2 separate regions of the Homo sapiens genome follow, and region 2 is linked to region 1. Evidence: promoter capture Hi-C in 16 types of primary human blood cells and fetal thymus (Javierre and others, 2016). All regions are on one chromosome and are shown on one strand. Each heading gives the region's core, a stretch centred on a gene start or on the middle of the fragment in contact. The rest is flanking DNA. Distances are from core to core; before and after follow the strand shown. Region 1 holds the start of DUSP19 (dual specificity phosphatase 19). Region 2 overlaps PDE1A (phosphodiesterase 1A).

Region 1 (3,368 bases), core at 79-2,578:
CAAAATGCCATAAACTTTGTTGCTTAAACAACCGAAATATATTTTCTTACAGTTCTGGAGGCTGAGAAGTCCAAGATCAAGGTGCTGGCCTATTCAGTTCCTGCTGAAAGCTCTCTTCCTGGCTTGCAGACAGCCAGCTTCTCCTTATGTCCTCATACTGTCTTTCCTTGGTCCATATAGGGGAGCAGGCAGATTTCTTTCAGTTCTCCTGAAGCCACTAAACCCATCATGAGGACCCTACCCTAGGGTCTTAGTCTAATCCTAAATTACATCCCAAAAGTCCCATTTAAATACCATCACCTTGAGGTTTAAAGCTTTAACATATGCATTTTGAAGGGACAGAAATAGTCAATCCATAACAGTTGAATTTTTTTATGTCAGAAAGTTTCAACAACAACACAAATTTTAATATGTGGTATTGGAAGAAAAGTTTTCATAAGTGCAACTTCTTCATTTTATATATGTGTTTATACATTGTGTTGAAATTCATTTAAAATTACATTTACTTTAATAGGGGTTTGAAAAATTTCTCTTTAAAGGAATCTTGTGATTTCTTTTGCAAAACTTTTTTTTGGTAATCAGAATCATCGTTCTATAATTTATTTATCTGTTTTACAAATTTGGATGCTTACACAATTGATTTTCTTAATTCTTCGTATGGATGGACTTGCTGCAATTCTTATTTAGGATGTATATTTACTGTATGAAATGAAAATGTAGGCTGAAAGTCAGAAAATAAATAAATTTTAAGCTCTTGTCAATCTACATATATGAGCATAAATTTTAAAAAATATATCTTTTTTCCCAGTTTATTTAAATTGTTGCCTCACAAATACGCACAACAACTTTATCTAGTAAACGTTCCTCTTGCATTAACAGCAAAAGCAGAAGGTGTGAAGGATACAGGAAGCGAGAAATAACTTTTAACGTCTGCTCTAGCCCTCCTGGACTAGCCTAAAAGCAGACAGGCAGGAAAGGCTTTGGGACATAGGGTGATTTGCAAGGTGACTCCGCCGGTCTCTTTCAAGCGGGAGCGATACACAGGTCAGCCCGGATCGTCCATGGTCACTGCCGTAAGTGACACTAACAGAATATATCAGAAAATCACTGCCTTTAAAGAACCAGGACATATCATTCCTCTCTCCAACGAAGTCTTATATTTTACCATTCTGCGTGTATTAGAAAGCTAAATTTAAACAGCAACAATAAGAAATCTTCCCCAGTGGATCCCTCGAGCCTTTCGGGAAAATGCAGGTTTCTGGCTGACAGGAAGAAGAAACAGCATCCAATCGGCACTTGTGTCTCAATGACCAATCAAATTTCGCCTTACATTGCATCGCTGGGATAAACGGAGCTGGACGACTCAGTCTCTTGGTCTGTGGCTGCTGCGGTTACCTGGATGGGCGAGCACCTCTGAGGCTGGCTTTGTTACCTGGGCAATAAGGGACTAGCAGTTCAGCCGTTTTCTATGCCTGCTGGATTTGTTTGTATTTGTTCCCAGCCACTGCTCATGTAATGTACTCCCTTAACCAGGAAATTAAAGCATTCTCCCGGAATAATCTCAGGAAGCAATGCACCAGGGTGACAACGCTAACTGGAAAGAAAATTATAGAAACATGGAAAGATGCCAGAATTCATGTTGTGGAAGAAGTAGAGCCGAGCAGTGGGGGTGGTTGTGGTTATGTGCAGGACCTTAGCTCGGACCTGCAAGTTGGCGTTATTAAGCCATGGTTGCTCCTAGGTGAGTATATCGACTTGCCACTAGATCATTGAGTCCTTTTAGCCAGATTACGTTCTCATTTTCCCCCTTTATGCGTAATAGTCTGTATTATCAGCTATCCTGCCGAAAAGCTGAACTGTTTCCTTTTTTGGATATGGAACTTCCATTAGCCAGCTAGAGCCGTTTCTGCCTCACAGTGTACCCATAAGAAGCATAGATGCTATTCTCGTAGCACTTGGCACTGCATATTTGAATTTTAGAAAAGCTTTCTTCCCGTTTCTCTAACTTCTCTGGAGAATAACACATTGATGTTGTGTTTTCTTGGCTTATAAAAAATACAGCTTGAAAAAAAAGGAATGAAAAAAGAATGTTTGTATCAGGCAGAACTACAAGTGACAATGGTTAAAGTTATAGAAAAGTTAATACTCGAAATAGTCCTGTGCTTGCTGGCCTGCGCAGCTCTTACAGACCGTGCGGAATACATGCCTCCTGTGGCCACGTCTGTTCATGGTGTCTGTTTTTGGAGTGTTTAAGAGAAGGAGATCTTAAGATCTTATGATTTATTTCGTATTATGGAAATACTGAGCCCCTATACAAGCATAGTTCACAAATAGCAAATGAAGCAAGGTTATAAAAGTGCAAACTTGTTAATTTGGCAAGAATATGGTATGGTGTTCTTAAAAAAATAGTCAAGAATGTTTTCAAGTACGTCTGAATTATTTCTATTTATGAATAGAGAAATTAAGACTTGGAAAGACTAAATGACTTATCACTATGCAGCTAAGGCATTCTTGAATAGAGAGAAGACTGAGAAATAGCCCAGGTGCTGTTCACCTAGTGTCTTACTCCTTTGAGGAATCCTGTGAAGTAGGGATTATCAGCTTTGTTTTACAAATAGAAACCAGGATTTAAAATTGGTGAAGTAATTTACACAAGGTAACACACCTGGTAAATAACAGACGTATGCATCAAGCCCAAGTCTGATGGACTCCTGCTGTCCATTGTTATACTAGGCTGCCTCACATAGACCAAGTTTTCAATCCTGCTCCGCCTCTAATTTACTAGATTAGCTGGTGCAAGCCATTTATCCTTTCTGGTCCTCCAAAAAGCCATTTGTAAAGATGAAGTAACAGTATCTGCTTATGTCATAGGATCCTCCTGAGGTTGTTGTAAAAGGTTTTTGATGCAAATCAATTGCAGTGTACATATAAGTTATTAAATATTATATGAATTGTTACATAGGCTGTCTTTAAATTCACCAAATAAATGTCTCTAACTAGTTTCTACAGTCCCGTGAAAAACTGTACCATATTCTTGTCACATTTACAGTGAAAAAGTGAGTTATTTAGGTAATCTGAAAAGTTCACCTAGGCCCTGCTCACCATATCTAGGAAAGAAAATACGTCCTGGCACATTTTTCAGTTATTTTGGCTTCCACTGTAGTAATCATGGCTTGGAATAATTATGGTAGAATTTTCATATATCATTCACCAATTTAGGGTCTTCATGAACTTTGCTTATTACTATTATTTGTGGACTTACCCAAAGTGAACTGATCAAGGTAGTGTTCTGAGATTGGGGTTGGAAACCTCCCCAGGATAGTGGGAGAGTCCTGGGAGGAACTTCTGAAACTAGCCCTAATAAGGTC
Region 2 (3,379 bases), core at 629-3,128, 890 kb before region 1:
AGAAAAACCCTAGAAATTAGAGAGCCATAGAAAGGCCATTTATAGTCAGTTTTAAAATTGATTTCAAAAAATTCAAGACAAGTTTTTTAAATATGTTTTTAAAATTAAAGAAAATAATCTTGAAGAATTAAAGGAAAATATGCTAACAATGAATGAAAATATAAAATATCAACAGAGAAATAGACATTATAAAAAAGAACCAAATGGAAATAATAAAATTGAAAAAAGTAGCTGAGATAAAAAGTTAATTCAGTGAAATCAACAGCAGGATTGAGGTGGCAGAGAAAGAAACAGTAAACTTGAAGATAAATCATTAGAAAGCAGCCAATCAAAAATGAATGAAGAAGGAAGGAAGGAACAAAAGAAGGAAGGAAAGGAAGAGAAGAAAGAAAGAAAGAAAGAAAGAAAGAAAGAAAGAAAGAAAGAAAGAACAATTAAAGAAATTGACAGAGATCCAGAGCATCCAGGACAATTTCCAGAATCCTAAGTTATGCATAACACAATCCTCAGAAGGAGAGAACAGAGAGAAAGAGGCAGAAGAAAAATATTGAACAAAATGACAGAAAGCTTTCTAAATTTGAAGCAAATTATTAATTTGTGGATTTAAGAAGCTAGTGAACACTAAGTAGAATACTGAAAAAAAAAAAGACCTAGATATATCATCATCAAATTGCTGAAAGTCAAAATAAAGTCTAGAAAACAGAAAGAAAAAGATAATACTCAGTACATACAAGGAAGCAACAATACAATTTATTTTTGGCCAACACTATCAGAAACTATGGAAGCCAGAGGCAATAGAATTACACATTAAAAGTGCTAAAATAAAAAAAAATCATTCAACAATTCTAAATCAAGTAAAATTATTCATAAATAAAAGTAAGATACAGACATTCCCAGATAAAGAAAATCTAATTGTTTGTCAGTATAACTGTGTTATAAGAAAATACTTGAGAAAGTACTCCAGTGTGAAGAGAAATGATACCAAATAGTAGCTCTGACACACAAGAAGAAATGAAGAATATCATAAGGGTAAATATGTGAGAACATACAAAAGATTGCATATACGAATGTGTGTGTCTGCCATCTGTCAAGTTCTGCAGGAATTAATGTGCTATTTTTGGCTCTCTGGTCTATTCCCAAGGCCCATCTTATTATCTCTATATCACAGCCACACTAAATTTATTACTTCAGTATAAGAGTAAATTTTGATATATGGCAAGTGCTCCCACTTTATTATCCTTCAGGAGTGTCTTGAGTATTCTTAGGTATTTGCAATACCATATAGATTTTAGGATCAATTTCTTAAATTCCATGAAAAATGTATTGGAATTTTCACTGGAAACATGTTATATTTATGGTTGACATTTGGGATAATTGAAAACGTTTCAATATTGTGTCTTTCTGACTATAAATATGATTTAACACTCTATTTTGATCTTATATTATCCATTTTAAGAAAAGTAAGTTTATTCCTGAGTATATTAAAGCTGCAAAAAACACAAGGAAAAAATTTCTGGCTGAAAAAATAACTACAAAGACCCTGGAGTATTTTAAGAAACTTCCAAGAGGCCATTGTGCAGGGAGTGTAGTGTATAAGGGAGACAGAGCTGTGGGAATGAGTGTGAGAAGAGGCAGGGGCCAGATCTGGATATGAAAGCTAATTCCTGCACGAAAGATAATAACTGTTTGAATACTAACTCACAAACCTACTAAATGGACTAATTAATTTGAAGCAGCTAATATGTCAGAAATAACTGTAGCTACCTTCCCATGCGATTGCTGTGGTGGTTGATTACTAATGATTTCCCCAATTCCTGTCTAAATTCTGAGTCAAAAAAGCAACTTAGTGAAACAGAAAAAAAACACACCCAAGTCTCTGACATGAAGTGATAACACACTTAATGCAACACAAAAGCCACTTACCAAGTAAAATCCAGGCTGGAAAGCACCTCTACGAAAGCACAGGAGTTTATATGGTACCACAAAGTTTTGTCACCATTTCATTATCTCATCTTTCAGTATCCAGTTTGCCAGCACCCACTGACACACAGATCTGCAGCCCATGTGGCACAAACAAACCAGAACCTCTTTTTATCTAATAAATGAGCCAACTTTCTCATGAATGATCAAAGAGTAGCCAAATTCCCAATACCATCAAGGGCTTACATATTCTATAGAAGAAGAAATCTAGAAGAAGTAATCCAAACTCTTAGAGGAGAAGTGAAGACAGAGAGAGATGGCAGTAAGGCCTCATAAACAACACTACCTTGTGCAGCTAACTCTTTCCACCTCTCTTTGTTCTGCTGAATGATGTCCACCAGGTTGTTCTTGAAACTCTTCAGGTCCACTGCTGCAAGGGAGTAGTCTGGGGAATAGGACCCATCACTCATGGAGCCTTTTGTATTTGATCGTCTTAGTGCATCAGCAATGTGTAACCCCACAATGGTGGTTGAGCTAACAGTAACAACCAAAGAAACCAAAAAACACCATCAGGATATGGGGTGAACAAGGAAAACCTGAAAAACTTTACAAAACCGACTAGAAAAGCAGGATAGTAGATGCTCAGTCCCAGTTCTGAGCACGTGGCAGCTGCTCATCTCCTTTCTCTCCCTCCCCACACTGGATTCTCCTTAGTACACACCTTACTTAGTATTTCATATTTTGTGTATTAAACTTCAGTTGTCAAAGGCAGATGCAATATAATATAAAGCCACTAGGTGGCAATACTCCCTAATAATTCTTGTGAGAATTCTCTGCCTAGATGTGAGAAATATAATCATTAAGGAAAGTGTTACTAAACACCACAAAGATGAAAAATAATGCAAAAAAGAAAATATCATACCTGCTTGCCACATAGGAAGAAGTTTCGGCTTTTGAGGCTTCCTCTATAAGAGGAATAACAATTTTCTCTGTTGAGTCTGTCAGAAGAGAAAATGTTGGCTCTACTATGAAATCGATGAAACCTACAAAAGCCAAAATGAGAAGAGAGAGAGATAAATTCAAGTGTTACAATTTCCTGAATTCTGAAATCAGAAATAATGAAGAGCTTCTGACAATCCTGGGATAGCAAGAATCAACTAAAATATTGGTTCTGCTTACCCTTTGTATTGTTTTAATCTAATAACAGTCTTTAGAGATGGTTTAACTGCTCTATAAAATAATACTTGAAGCCATGGAAGTGACACAATTTAAGCTTGCTAACTCAAGTATATTGGCTTTTCTATTTACTATTCAGCCTTATATAATATACGATTGCTAACAATACATTTAGATCCAATGAGAGTGACTATAGTTTCCTCTCTCAACACCAGGGATCATTATCTTTTTTGAAAGCACATCATGTGCATTTTGGATTTTATTCTTTACTAACAAGAAATCA

Evidence for each region. The method cuts DNA at HindIII sites, captures the fragments that hold promoters and counts their contacts. A CHiCAGO score of 5 or more calls a contact.
Region 2: a fragment that was not itself captured here is called in contact with the fragment with the promoter of DUSP19 in region 1 in 2 of 17 cell types (total B cells and total CD8 T cells); the score reaches 6.7 in total B cells.

Annotation. Positions count from the first base shown.
Region 1 is chr2:183,077,419-183,080,786 of GRCh38, forward strand. DUSP19 (dual specificity phosphatase 19) reads left to right here and starts at 1,329. Exons shown (of 4, transcript NM_080876.4): 1 at 1,329-1,741. The coding sequence starts at 1,516. The HindIII fragment of the contact is 1,671 bases long and covers 313-1,983 here.
Region 2 is chr2:182,183,626-182,187,004 of GRCh38, forward strand. PDE1A (phosphodiesterase 1A) reads right to left here. Exons shown (of 15, transcript NM_001363871.4): 12 at 2,843-2,963; 13 at 2,267-2,454. Among named protein-coding and RNA genes, the nearest start is that of PPP1R1C, 200 kb to the left of the region's middle. The HindIII fragment of the contact is 2,626 bases long and covers 566-3,191 here.